Regions from separate parts of the Homo sapiens genome. Here all the other regions are linked to region 3. Evidence: promoter capture Hi-C in human tissues and cell types (Jung and others, 2019). All regions are on one chromosome and are shown on one strand. Each heading gives the region's core, a stretch centred on a gene start or on the middle of the fragment in contact. The rest is flanking DNA. Distances are from core to core; before and after follow the strand shown. Region 1 overlaps TBC1D19 (TBC1 domain family member 19). Region 2 overlaps TBC1D19 (TBC1 domain family member 19). Region 3 holds the start of CCKAR (cholecystokinin A receptor).

Region 1 (4,588 bases), core at 1,675-4,174, 210 kb before region 3:
GGGAGACAGAAAGACATTATATATTAACAAAAGTTTCAATACAGCAAGAAGATACAACAGCTATAAACATTTATGTACCTACAACAGACTTGAAAATGTATGAAGCAAAAACTAACAAAAAATGAAAGGAGATATAGACAATTCTAGTGTAACAGTGGACTTCAATATCCTATTCTCAATGATGGATAGAACCACTAGACAGGAAATAAGGAAATGAAGTATTTACATGATAAACCAACTAGAGTATTTACATGATAAACCAACTAGATCTAACAATATACTGAACACTTTACCCAAGAACTACAGCATACACATTCCATGTAAATGCACATGGGACATTTTCCAGATAGATCATATATTAGGTCACTAATTAAGTTTCAATAGATTTTTAAAAAACAGAGATGATACAAAGTAGCTTCTCTGACCACAGAGATGGAGGTAGAAATCAGTCACAGAAGGAAAACTGGAAAATTTACAAATCTATGGAAATTAAACAACACAGTCTTAAACAGCCAATGGATTAAAGAAGAAATTATAAGAGAAATTAGAAATACTTAGAGACAAATGGCAAAACCATGACATATCAAAACTTACGGGATTCAGTGAGAGTGATGTTAAGTGGCAAATTTATAGCTATAGAGGCTTAGATTAAAAAACAAGAAAGGTTTCAAATCAACAGCCAACTTTGCAACTTCAGGAACTGGAAAAAATGGGCAAACTAGGCTAGAAGCTAGCAGAAGAAAGAAAATAAAATAATAAAAAGTAGAGCAGAGATAAATGAAATGGAGAATAGGAAAACAATAGAGATAATAACTGAAACCAAAGTTGGCTTTTCAAAAAGTTCAACAAAATTAACAAACCTTGAGCTAGAAGGACTAAGAAAAAAGAGAGAAGACTCAAATTATTAAAATAAGAAATGAAACTGCGAATATTACCACTGACTCTAAAGAAATAAAAAGGATTATAAGAGAGTACTATGACCAATTGTACACCAACAAATTGGATAACCTGGATAAAATGAACAAATTTCTAGAAACACAAAGTCAACCAAGACTAAATCACAAAGAAATAGAAAATCTGAACAGACCTGTAACTAGTAAAAATATTCATCAATAATCAAAACTCTGACAAAGAAAAGCCTTGGTCCTGATGGCTTCACTGGTTAATTCTACTAAACATTTAAAGAAGAGCTAACACCAATGTTTCTCAAACTTTTCAAAAAATTGATCTGGGCATGGTGATGTGCAACTATAGTCCCAGATACTCAGAGAGTTGAGGCAAGAGAATTGCTTGAGGCCAGGAGTCCAAGGGTACAGTGCATGTGCTATGATCAAGCCTGTGAACAGTCACTGTACTCCAGCCTGGGCAACATAGGGAGATCCTGTCTTTCAAACAAACAAACAAACAAAACAAAACAAAACAAAAACTTTCCCACACAATTAAAAAATAGAAAACACTTCTTAATTCATTCTGTGAGGCCAGTATTACCTTGATACCAACACCAAAGACCCTACGAGAAACCCCAAATAGCCAAAACAATGTTGAAAAAAGAAGAACATATCTGGAAGATTCCTATTTCTTCCAGATTTAAAAACTTCCTAGAAAGCTATAATAATCAAAACAGTGTGCTATTGGCATAAAGACAGATGTACAGACAAACAGAATAGAACAGAACTAGAAATAAAACCTTGAATATACGGTCAAATGATTTACAACAAGGGTTTGTGCTTGTCCTTTCTCCCATTACCATTCAATGGGAGAAAGTGCAGTCTTCCAACAAATGGTGCTAGGAAAACTGGATATCTATATGCAAAAGAATGAAGCTGGGCCTTTATCTAACACCATATCCAAAAATTAAGTCAAAATGGATTAAAGACCTGAATGCAAGTTCTAAAACTATAAAACTCATAGAAGAAAACATAGTGCAAAATCTTCACAACATTGGATTTGGTGATCTCTTGGATACAATACCAAAGGCACAGATGATAACAACAAAAATTAGGCAAACTGGACTTCATGAAAATTTTAAAATTTTGTGCATCAAAAGACACTATCAACAGAGTAAAAAGTCAACTCACAAATGGGAGAAAATATTTACAAATCACATTTTCAGTAAGACATTAATAACCAGAATATTTACAGATCTCTTAAGACTCAACAATAACAACAACAACAACAAAAAAAAACAAGTTGATCCAAAAATGGCCAAAGGACTTCAATAGACATTTTTTTCCTGAGTAGATATATAAATGGTTAATGAGCACAAGAAAAGATGCTCAATATCATTAATCATTAGGGAAATGCAAATGAAAACTATAATAAGATAACATCATTTCATACCCATTAGGATGGCTACTATCAAAAAAAGAGAAAGTAACATGTTGGCGATGATGTGGAGTAACTGGAAACTTTGTACACTATTGTTGGAATATAAAATGGTATAGTCACTGTGGAAAACAGTATGACACTTCCTCAAAAAGTTGAAATAAAATTCATTTCTTATAATATTATATTTCTATTCTGAAGCCATCACTAAGTTCTGCACTACTCCCAGAATTTATTTTCCCTTTATCTATATTTGCATAGAATTTATATATATTTCTATTGGGGGATTTATCAAATTATAACTATGAATTTGTCTTTCTCTTCATTTTTCACTAAGTTGTGAGCTTAATAAATATCTTCTTTTGCTAGCACCTAACACAGTGCCTATATCAGAACATACACCAAATAATCTAACTAGATACATGAACAAAGAATATCTGACACATTTGGACCTTTTTAACTCCATTCAATAGCGTTAAAATATCTATAACTATGTCACACTTCAGTATCTCAGGACTACTACTAAGTATATGCCAGATAAACCAAGCATATGATGGAAGATTCGTCATACAACAGAAAGAGTAAATCTCCATGTCTTCCCTTTTACTATATATGAATTCTTTCCTATGAATATCTTATATACTTTGGACAATATGTTAACTTACGTAGTTTGTGAAAATTCCACTCAGTATTGAAGTCTGAAAATGGTACTGTCAAACTACTCAGTTTACTTCCATTAAATAAGAGTTGTCTTCTGTTTGAATACATTTTGAAACTGACATAATTTAAAACTTACAACACTTAAAAATGGGTACTTTAAGAATTTCATGCAAAATAAAAACTAACTTAACACTGGAATACTAAAGGATTGGCTTATTACTAAAAACATTATTTCTATAATATTCAGCATTGTTGCCTGTAAAATTTAGGAACATTAACATGAGGTACTCAGGAACAAGTGCCTGCGTATCCTTGTAACATAGGCCCAGATTTTCTTTTTTCTTTTTTTTTTTTTTTTGAGACGGAGTCTCACTCTTTTGCCCAGGCCGAATTGCAGTGGCACGATCTTGGCTCACTGCAAACTCCACCTCCCTGGTTCACGCCATTCTCCTGCCTCAGCCTCCCGAGTAGCTGGGACTACAGGCGCCCGCCACCACGCCCAGCTAATTTTTTTTTTTTTTGTATTTTTAGTAGAGATGGGGTTTCACCATGTTAGCCAGGATGGTCTCGATCTCCTGACCTCGTGATCCACCCGCCTTGGCCTCCCAAAGTGCTGGGATTACAGGCATGAGCCACCGTGCCCGGACATAGGCCCAGATTTTCTTTAAAGAAGGATTACTGGATATTTTCTCATCTGTATGTAAACACAGCAATGCCACATGACATCTAATTTTGCAGTGTAGTCACAAAATCCAATAAATCGGCTATGACCAAGAACATGGCCAGGAATATTAAATTTGCTATACATTGACAATTTTCCTATACAGCAACTGTGTTGCTAGGCAGCTCTGCTAAAGGAATGCCTGTAATTAATGACAAGAACAGGCTTTCTTCTGTCTTATTACACACATGCACACACACACACATGCACACACACAATTTTTTCTGAAAGGAAAAAACAGAACTCAATTTCTGAAAACAGAATATTTACAATGCATACAATTACATACGTTTTTATTAGTTAAAATAAATTTCTAATAATTCAGACTAATTGTAAAATGAATAATTAAAAAGTATCACCATGAAAGTGTTTTCTTAGTAATTATCCATATAAGGAAAATTTATTTTTACATAATTCCCAAAGAGAGATGCTTAGATGTTGTAATTATCCATCTATTTATGTTATGGGGATAGAGATCCACATTAAAGCTTATTTAGACAGATGAAAGGATAAAGAAAATGTAGTATATACAATACAATGGAATATTATTCAGTCATTATAGAGAAGAAAATGAGTTACATGAGGCCACATGATCCTGGAGGACATTATATGAAATGAAATAAGGCAGTCACAGAAGAACAAATATTACATGATTCTACTACATGAGGTATCTAAAACAGTCAAACATATAGCAGCAGTTGAATGGTGACTGCTGGGCCCGGGGGCAGGGGGAATATGGAGCTGCTATTCAATTGGTATAATGTTTCTGTCATGGGAGATGACTGAATTCTAAAGATCTGCTGTACAGCACTGTGCCTATAGTTAATACTACTATACTGTACACTTAAAAAGGTATTAAGAGGATAGACCTTGTGATAAGTG
Region 2 (5,010 bases), core at 2,402-4,901, 130 kb before region 3:
TGTCTCAAAAAGAACAAATATAGAAAGACAGATAGATACTTACTGATAGGGGAGGTAATCAGTATGGCCATGGTTAAAGAATCAATTAGCTCAGCAAACCTTATCAAGAGTGTTCTGTGGGCTGGGTACTATGCTAGATGCTGACGATAAAAAGCACAATCCCTGCTATTGAAGAATGAATAATTTAGTGCGGGGATAGGCAAACCTTGTATGAAAGGGAAGATAGTAAATATTTTAGGCTTTGCAGTCCATGGGTCTCTATTGCAACCACTTTAGGCTGTCACTGTTGTGCAAAAGCAGCAACAACCAATATGCAAATGAATGAACGTGACTATTTTCCAATAAAACATATCTTAGTGATTCATATAGTTTTCATGTGTCACAAGATTATCCTTATTTTGATTTTTCAACCACTTAAAAATGTAAAAAAAGTAAAAATAAAATTCCTAGTTTGCCAGCCCTATAAAAATAGGTGGCAGGTTGGATTTGGCCCAGGGGCTGTAGTTTGCAGATCCGTGATATACATGGGAAAGTCCAGAAAGAAAAGAGAGGAGTATCATACGTGTACCTATCACTCACATATATTCTCAGCAGCTAGCAGTAAGCTCTAAGAGTCGACTTATTATTTACCTCTCTATCTCTTCTTTTCAGTCATGATTTAAAAAAAAAAATTTATGTTTTGTTTCTTACACCTAGTATGTTAAAACTGATACTTTCTCTATACTGTTTAGAAATTTTCAATTTCACTAAAAAATATTCAGGCCCAACCTTCTTAGTTTTATTTTACTGAGTTTAAATCTTTATTATTATTATTATTATACTTTAAGTTTTAGGGTACATGTGTACAACGTGCAGGTTTGTTACATATGTATACATGTGCCATGTTGGTGAGCTGCACCCATTAACTCGTCATTTAGCATCAGGTATATCTCCTAATGCTATCCCTCCCCTCTCCCCCCACCCCACAACAGTCCCTGGTGTGTGACGTTCCCCTTCCTGTGTCCATCTGTTCTCATTGTTCAATTCCCACCTATCAGTGAGAACATGCGGTGTTTGGTTTTTTTGTCCTTGCAATAGTTTGCTGAGAATGATGGTTTCCAGTTTCATCCATGTCCCTACAAAGGACATGAACTCATCATTTTTTATGGCTGCATAGTATTCCATGGTGTATATGTGCCACAATTTCTTAATCCAGTCTATCGTTGTTGGACAATTGGGTTGGTTCCAAATCTTTATAACAAAAAAAAACCCACAATTCTTTCATATATGTATTATTTATTATGCTTTATGACAAATTGATAAATAAACATTAACTGATTTCCAGCCCTAAAAGATACCACCTAGAGATAGAAATATATACTTCCTCAAATATCTCCAAGGTTTTTATTTATATTGCTTCTTTTCACCATCTAATTTTTTGATGATTTTTTTAAATAAAAATAAAAGTCGAAAAAAGTGCCTAATTTCCACTGTTGTGGAATGTGATGACTCTGCAGAAAATTTTCAAGAGCAGAAGAACCATGATGATAACTGTGGAAGCTGAGTGATGGGTTCATGGGAGTTCTTTGAGGTACCTTTGAAATATTCCATACCAAAAAAGGTTTTAAAAATCCATCTCTGAGGCTATGCTGAAGAATGAAGGTCGACTGACTGTGGTGCTCATTACGTGCCTCAGCAGTGGCAGTCACAGAGTCCTACTCAACCAGCACTGTGAGGAAGGCTTACGGACAGGACTGGACTGAGGGGAGGTGAGTGAGGCTGTGCTGAGATGAAGGACAGTTAAAAGAGCTAGGGGCATGTGCTAGAACTTCTTGAGCTTCCATTTTAACAACTATTCATAGTTTTTATACTTAAATTATTTTATTTTGTCATTTTATTCTTAGTTTTTTGCCAACCCATTTTGATAGCAGGTTTATCAGAGTTCTACAATAGCATACAATTAATAGGTGACAGCCTACTGCGAGAACAAATATATTTTAAATACACTTTCAATAACACTGGCTTCAAAGGCCAAAATTTTAAGGAAAGAGGGTGTCAGTTCATTCACATTTCATTCCTTTAATATCACAGGCCATGAAGAATAGATTGCCACATTACACTTGTACCATATTTTAAATTGCAGGCCAGTATAGTAGATGATTTTTCCCCTTCTACCCCATTTTTTCCAGGGTTGCCATAGTTAAATAGGTATGATCCTTGGTTACTGAATATAAAATGGGAGAATATACAAATACTATTAACATAAATTTAGTGGTTCTTACCCAGTATTTCATAATTAATAATACATACTCCTGACATCAGTAATGATCTTTTGCTCTGTATTACATAACTTGGCATGAAAAAATAAAATGAAATTGAACAATAGCCAACCTGTGCTTTCCTCATGTATACCAAAGGTTCTTTAAGATGTTCAGGAGGTGCAGCAGGATGACTAGGTAAAGGAAACCTAGGAGCAAAAAGAGGCAGCTAAATATCACACATTATTCTCTTGGTTAGATATTACTTACCTCTGTAGTCCATGTTATAAACTGTTTTCCCAGTAACATTTCATTTTATATTCAAAATGTACTGTTTTTATTAAGAAAATAGATTGATGTAGTCAACAAATACTTGGGCCATTCTAGGTACTAAGTATAAGGTGGTGATTGAGATAACATTCTCTGTTCTCATGGACGTAACATTCTCGTGAAGAAAGCCAATAATCACAAACACATACAAATAAAATAATATCAGATTGCAGTAAGTGCCGTGAGAAAATGAAAGCAGGGTAATAAGACACAATAAATTTGGAGGTCAGTGAAGTCCTCTTGGGGATTTTATATTTAAACCAAGACATGAGTGTGAAGGAGCCAACCATGCAAAGATCTGGGGGAAGAATATTCCAGGCAAAGGGATGGCAAGCACAAGAATTCTGAGGAGGTAATGCTTGAAATGTTTAAGGATCAGAAAAAGTCAGGGCCACTGGAACATAATGACTGAAGTGCAGAGTGGTATGAAATCACAGATAGAAAAGGCAGTAGGAAGACATGATGGTTCAATGTTTATTTGGAGATTCCAATCCATTTCACAACAATATATAACTCCTCTTGAAATTAGTCATCAGACTTGTACCTACAGCAAAACAGTCATGTTCCAATAATCAGGAACCATAGACTGAATTCTCAATAAATTCCTGGTCCAAAGTGGGACAAAAACATGTAAAAGGTTAATAATTTTCAAAACCACTTGCATCTGTCCTGGAGCCTACATGTAAAAGGCTAAACTGTCCATAGAAACATTGCTGGAATAGAGAAAGGCAACCTATCCAACCTAATCTATAAGACAGCTTCACAAATTGATTATTTCTGGCAAATTATTTTTCTACTAAAATCTACATTTCATGTATCTTTCGCATTCACAAATGAAAAAAAATTTAAGTCTCTAGATACCTTGATATTTCTTGTCTTATATGTAAGACAGTTTAAAAACTATCTCACATTGTCCAATATACCATTTGCTTCCACTTTTAATGGTAATTATGTAAAATTTAATAAAGCTTAGAAATTTAGGATTAAGGCCAAACGTGGTGGCTTATGCCTGCAATCCCAGCACTTTGGGAGGCCGAGGTGGGTGGATCACGAGGTCAGGAGCTCGAGACCATCCTGGCTAACATGGTGAAACCCCGTCTCTACTAAAAATACAAAAAAATTAGCCAGCCGTGGTGGCACATGCCTATAGTCCCAGCTACTGGGGAGGCTGAGGCAGGAGAATGGCGTGAACCTGGGAGGCAGAGCTTGCAGTGAGCCGAGATTGCACAACTGCACTCCAGCCTGGGCAACAGAGCAAGATTCCGTCTCAAAAAAAAAAAAAAAGAAATTTAGGATTAAAATTTGAGAGACTTTACTGATGATCTTAATAGTTATTTAATGATCAAAGAAACATATCCAAAATACAGGTAACAAGAGGAGACAACTTGAAAGTCATTCATATTAAGACCAAAATCAAGTTAGATATTTATTTTTTCAGAAATATTTAATGACAACCTACTCAATATAAAAGAGATACAGAAGTGAACAAAACTAGCTAAAATACCTGCCCTCATGGAGCTTACATTTAGTAATATGCAGAGATAAGAGTTGCCAGATAGGAAAAATGCACAGAAACTTATACAGCACACTTGACTCTATTTTTTCTTGTCCCCCAAGTCTCCCTAAATAACCTAAGATGTTCTACCCACTGACAGTAAACTATTTTAGGCAACCATTATTCCTTGCCTACATTTATCCAGCAGGTTCCTAAGCGCTTCCAGACTGTTTTCAACCTATTCACCAATTTGCCTGGATGTTGGCCAGAAGTGATGTCTTCCTTATTCACCAGTAATTGTAACTCCAGCATTGAGCAAAATGCCTGGTACACAGTAGATAACCAATATATTGCTGAATGAATAAAATGCAAATTTGATCATGTTACTATTTTACTTACAATTTTTAAATGGCACCCAAATGCTTTTAGGATCCAGTCTACAAAGTCTTAAGAGGCACAATCCTGTTTATAAATCTAGAATCGTCCTTAGCCATGATCCCTTCACCTGCTACCATTCAGCCATACAAACTTTTGTACCATGTTTGCACCACACTCTTTTCCATTTCTAAATCTCTGAGCCTGCTATTCCCTTCTGCCTGAAGTGCTTTTCTTCTCTACTCTTTCCCCTGAGAAACTCTAGCTTAGCTTTCTGATCTCAGCCTGGATATTGCTTCCTTTGGTAAGCCACCATGACATCCCCAAATCTAAGTTAAATGCCGGCCTTACGTGTTCCTTGTATTTCCCTAATCATTGCACTTATTTTACTGTACTGTAATTGCCTCTTTAAAGTCTGTATGCCCAACTGGGATGTAAGTTCCAGGAGGCAAAGACTGTCTAGCCTGTTCATTAACAACAGCACCTGGCTCTGTGCACAATAGCAAACATACAGTAGCATTTCAAACTAAGAGGGCAAAGAAGAACTGTATGTTTAGGACGTTTCAGAGGTAC
Region 3 (4,598 bases), core at 664-3,163:
AGAAAGAAAGAGAAAAAGAAAGGAGGGAGGGAGGGAAGAAAGGAAAGAAAGAGAGAGAGAAAGAAAGGAGGAAGGGAGGGAAGAAAGGAAAGGAAAGGAAGGAAGGAAGGAAGGAAGGAAGGAAGGAAGGAAGGAAGGAAGGAAGGAAGGAAGGAAACTAATTTGCCCAGTATTTCCTAGCAGGTAACCAGTGAAGCCAGGATTTGATCCCAAGTCTGTCTGATGCCAAAGCCTGTCCTCCCAATAACATCCACAGCTTCTCCAGTGTCCCTTCCCCTTCTTGTTTCTGTGACTAAATGCCCCAAACCATGTGGTCTTCATGGTTTCAAAGAAAAGAGGCACCACTGTCTTTCCAGCCCCACACTGACAGTAAAAATGCGTTAGTTCCTCTGTGTCTGGCAGAGACTCAGCAAGATGTAGCATGCAGCTCTGCCAGTGGAAGCATTGTCAGTACACAAGGAGCCCCACGGGTATCTAGCAAATGGACCAAGTCTCAGCACAGCCAAGCAGGGCGTCAGAAACGCAGGTTTCACAGCCATTGTCGTCTGCTTTCCAAAGGGTCTGAACTGAGGACATAATCTGTGCAATGGAGGTTGAAGGGCTTTCCAGCACCACAGAGCTTCATGGAACACCCAGGACCCTGAGATGGCCCCCCTCTCTGATCTCACGTCCTGCTGTTTGCCTCTCACTCACTCCTACTTCTATCTATTTGTACCTCAATGGGGCCACACTCATTCCCACCTCAGGGCCTTTGCACTTGCTGTTACCTCTGCTAAAAGTGCTCCTCCTTTTGCCTGGGAGAAGCTGTCTTGGGATCTTCACAAGACTTTGTCCTTCTTGTGGTTCAGTCTCAGATCACAGTCCCCTCCTTAAGAGACCTCTCCTGACTACCCCTTCTAAATCAGCAGCCCCAGGCCAGGTGCAGTGGCTCACGCCTGTAATGCCAACACTGGGAGGCCAAGGCAGGAGGATTGCTTGAGCTCAGGAGCTTGAGACCAGCCTGGGCAACATAGCGAGACCTCCTCTCTTCTAAAACTAAAAAAATCAGCTGGGCTTAGTGGTGTGTGCCTGTAGTCCCAGCTACTCAGGAGGCTAAGGTAGGAGGATTGCTTGAGCCAGGGAGCAAGGCTGCAGTGAGCCATGATCGCGCCACTCCACTGCAGCCTGGGGAACAGAGCAAGACCCTGTCCCCGCCCCCCAAAAAATCAGCCCCTAATCTGTTTGTATACATCACATCTCCCTGCTTTACTCCCTTTGTAGTACTTACTACCTGAAATAATTCTGCTCATTATTTGCTGACATGCTAGAAAAGTGCCTGGCAAATGATTGACTCTCAATGAAGATGTGCTGAATGCAAGGCTTCATGAATGAAGAGGAAATCTCACTAACGTCTTTTGTAATAAGGACCCAGGTACCTATGTTCAAAAGTGCCTCAATCCTAGTTAACAAGGGCAGAGACCACGAGAAACAACACTGTGTTTAGTAGCAACTTAACAACCAGCCAGCAGTTCTGTCCACACACACACCACCGGGCATGGTTCCAAAGCTAAAAAGGCACTAATTGCTTTTCTATAAGGAGGTAGAACACAGTCCCTCCGTGTTCTTTAGGCCTGATGGTCTGCATTATCGGATCTGTTACCGTGTTAATTGTTCCTGTCTCACACAGCCGGTTTGGGCTTTCTTCTGCATATGTCTGGGATGGTGACGGGTTCCTATATAGAGGAGTACTGGGGAAGCCTCTGTGTGTGTGTGTGTGTCCGTGCATATGTACACATGTGTGTAAAAAGCAGCCACACGCTGAGAATGGTTAACGGGTAGCCAGGCTGTCTGTACTCAGGGCCCTAAGACTGGCCCAGGAAAGGGCCGGGGGAGGTGGGGCGGGGTGAAGGTGGAGCGGGCTTGGCTTGTGCTCACTGCCTTTTCCACAACAGGAGTACAAATGCTGGAGTGAGTGAGGTGAACTCAAGTCGCCTTTAGGAATGGCTGAAAAAGCCCACACCTGGAAATCACTCCCTCCCTGCTCCTCCACGGCAGGTTGCATCTGCGAGACGCTTCGGTCATTAGAGGAATGAGCCGGGAGTGAGCAATTCACCAGCTCTCCAGCACTTGGTGGAAAGCAGCAGGCAAGGATGGATGTGGTTGACAGCCTTCTTGTGAATGGAAGCAACATCACTCCTCCCTGTGAACTCGGGCTCGAAAATGAGACGCTTTTCTGCTTGGATCAGCCCCGTCCTTCCAAAGGTAAGTGTCGGAAGCTGTTATTTTAATTCAGGAAACTATTGAGTTGTGGGAGAAATCAGCAAAGGCAAGGCTGATAAAAAATATATATAACCAAGTCATTGTGAGACAAGGCTAGATAAAGTCATATGTTCAGAAGTTTGGAGAAGAGATTAAAAAGCAGAATAGAGTCAAATATTCTTATTGTCCCCCATGGGGGAGTTGGGCATTCATGAATAGGACTTGGGGGAACAAAAGCAGGGGAGGAAAAGCTGAGTGAAGCAAGAGGGACTACAAGTGTCAAAGCCTGAACTTACAAGCACAGCAGAAAAGGTGTTGTCACCATGCAGCTGTTTTCTTTTCTTGGGGGGAAACCCAGCATGAAGTGATTAAAGTGAAATAATGCTTAGCAGCCAGGAAAGAAAGTGATCACTGTTCACTTGAGGAGCTTTGTTCTTAAGAAAAAGTGGTTCCCTGAGTGATCCTTTAACAAACCAACCTTCTAAAAAGAAAATAATTCAGTCTCTGCTTTCCTCAATTTGTTTCCGCAAAATGTTGCCAGGACAGGAATCGTGGGTCCAGTGATGTACACCCCGGTGGGGGGAAAATCGGCAGGAATTCACCCTTGGCTTCGGTTTTAGCATTCTGCTGTCATCACCTCCATCCCTCCGTCTTGCTCCTGTTTCTCTCTGCAGAGTGGCAGCCAGCGGTGCAGATTCTCTTGTACTCCTTGATATTCCTGCTCAGCGTGCTGGGAAACACGCTGGTCATCACCGTGCTGATTCGGAACAAGCGGATGCGGACGGTCACCAACATCTTCCTCCTCTCCCTGGCTGTCAGCGACCTCATGCTCTGTCTCTTCTGCATGCCGTTCAACCTCATCCCCAATCTGCTCAAGGATTTCATCTTCGGGAGCGCCGTTTGCAAGACCACCACCTACTTCATGGGTAAGTTGCTGCTGGTGACTCTTTCTGGAGCTTGCCCCAGACCCCACTCAGCCCCAGACCTTCCCAAACCTCTGACAATCACAGCAAAGGAGCCCTGCTGAGGGCTGAATCACAGAACATCAGGCTGTGCATGGCTGTGTGCACGGACATTGGTGCTGGCTTGACAGTCATCCTTATACGTTCCCCACAAGTCGGTCCCCATCATCCATGTTGGAGGTCAGTTTCTAAGAGTGAAATAAATTGATAGGAAAACACAGGGGCAGTTGATTTTGCTTGCTTCTATTTGAAGGGAAGAGGGACTTGCTTGCTTCTGTTTGAAGTCAGAAGTGACTTTAAGCTGCTCTATCCCTTTCTGGAAGCTGTTGACTGTGTCCTGATCTATACACAACTTGAGTCCTGGCTTCTAGGGAGGGTGAGGATGATGGAGGAGGGTTCTTTGCAGTTGTTTCTTTTGTTTTCTTAGGGAACAGGGGCTATTTGAAAACCAGTTCTATCGCAGTTTCAGATTCTCTTCTCAGGATTCACTTCCCAGCCTGTTCTCCCCAAAGCTGGGGCCATCTCTGGCAGAAAGAGAGAGAGAGAGAGGTCTCTGCCCCTAGATGAGGAGTTGAATTTGCTCCTGGGGGCTATGGGGTCGCTAAGCTGACCCTGATTGGCTGAGATATATAGCTCTTTGCCTATGCCAAACAAAAATGATGATAATGAAAATCATAAGAGCTAAATTTTTTTAGCGCTTTTATGCACCCCATGTGGTACTAAGTGCTTTGCCTTCCATGATCTTACCTTATCTCCCAACCACTCTATGAAGTAAATGCAATGATTCTTCCTTGTCTCCCTAAGGAGGAAACAGAGGCACAGAGAGGTCCATAATGTGCCTAGAACCACACAGATGGTAAGCAACAGAGCTGAGATTTGAGTCCAGATTTGTAGCCACACAATGGTGAGCATGATACCTCAGTTTGCCAACTGCTGTGGTTCTCTTAAAGTTGAACAAAAAAACACATTTCTTGGTCCCCTCTGGGTGCCAGATTGCCTAGTCCCTTGCCCTTTCTGAGAATTAGTTGGGAGAAGGGCAGAGATGGGAAATAAGAAGGGAGTTATTTTTTGTTCTGACCCAAGCCTTGCAGAATATGCAGAACTGAGTTAGGCTAGGGCAGTCTTCAATGACCAGAAAGCCTTATAAGTCCTCATTTTTCCCAGTTGAGGAAGTGGGATTCCACACTGACAAAATGATGGTGAATTACTGACCCTCGTGCCACCAAAAACCAAGAATGTGTCAATCCATGTCCAAGTCCTCTGAAAAAAAAAAAAAAGACAAAACTTACAAAGGAAAAAGATCGTTGTTAAATAATGAAGCAATAATAATAACTAGCACTGTAGACATCCGAGGCCCATCCATATATATCTTATGGTAATACTATTTGGGAACCTTAA

What was found. The method cuts DNA at HindIII sites, captures the fragments that hold promoters and counts their contacts. A contact is called where the count stands out against the background at its distance.
Region 1: a contact is called between a fragment that was not itself captured here and the fragment with the promoter of CCKAR in region 3, in 3 of the 25 tissues and cell types used here (H1 embryonic stem cells, IMR-90 fibroblasts and dorsolateral prefrontal cortex).
Region 2: a fragment that was not itself captured here is called in contact with the fragment with the promoter of CCKAR in region 3 in 2 of the 25 tissues and cell types used here (IMR-90 fibroblasts and thymus).

The regions. Positions count from the first base shown.
Region 1 is chr4:26,702,716-26,707,303 of GRCh38, reverse strand. The region is part of intron 13 of TBC1D19 (TBC1 domain family member 19); the gene reads right to left. Among named protein-coding and RNA genes, the nearest start is that of TBC1D19, 120 kb to the right of the region's middle. The HindIII fragment of the contact is 4,051 bases long and covers 899-4,588 here.
Region 2 is chr4:26,618,049-26,623,058 of GRCh38, reverse strand. It overlaps TBC1D19 (TBC1 domain family member 19), which reads right to left. Exons shown (of 21, transcript NM_018317.4): 4 at 2,371-2,446. Among named protein-coding and RNA genes, the nearest start is that of TBC1D19, 36 kb to the right of the region's middle. The HindIII fragment of the contact is 4,224 bases long and covers 1,540-5,010 here.
Region 3 is chr4:26,487,799-26,492,396 of GRCh38, reverse strand. CCKAR (cholecystokinin A receptor) reads left to right here and starts at 1,913. Exons shown (of 5, transcript NM_000730.3): 1 at 1,913-2,241; 2 at 2,913-3,164. The coding sequence starts at 2,130. The HindIII fragment of the contact is 14,703 bases long and covers 1-4,598 here.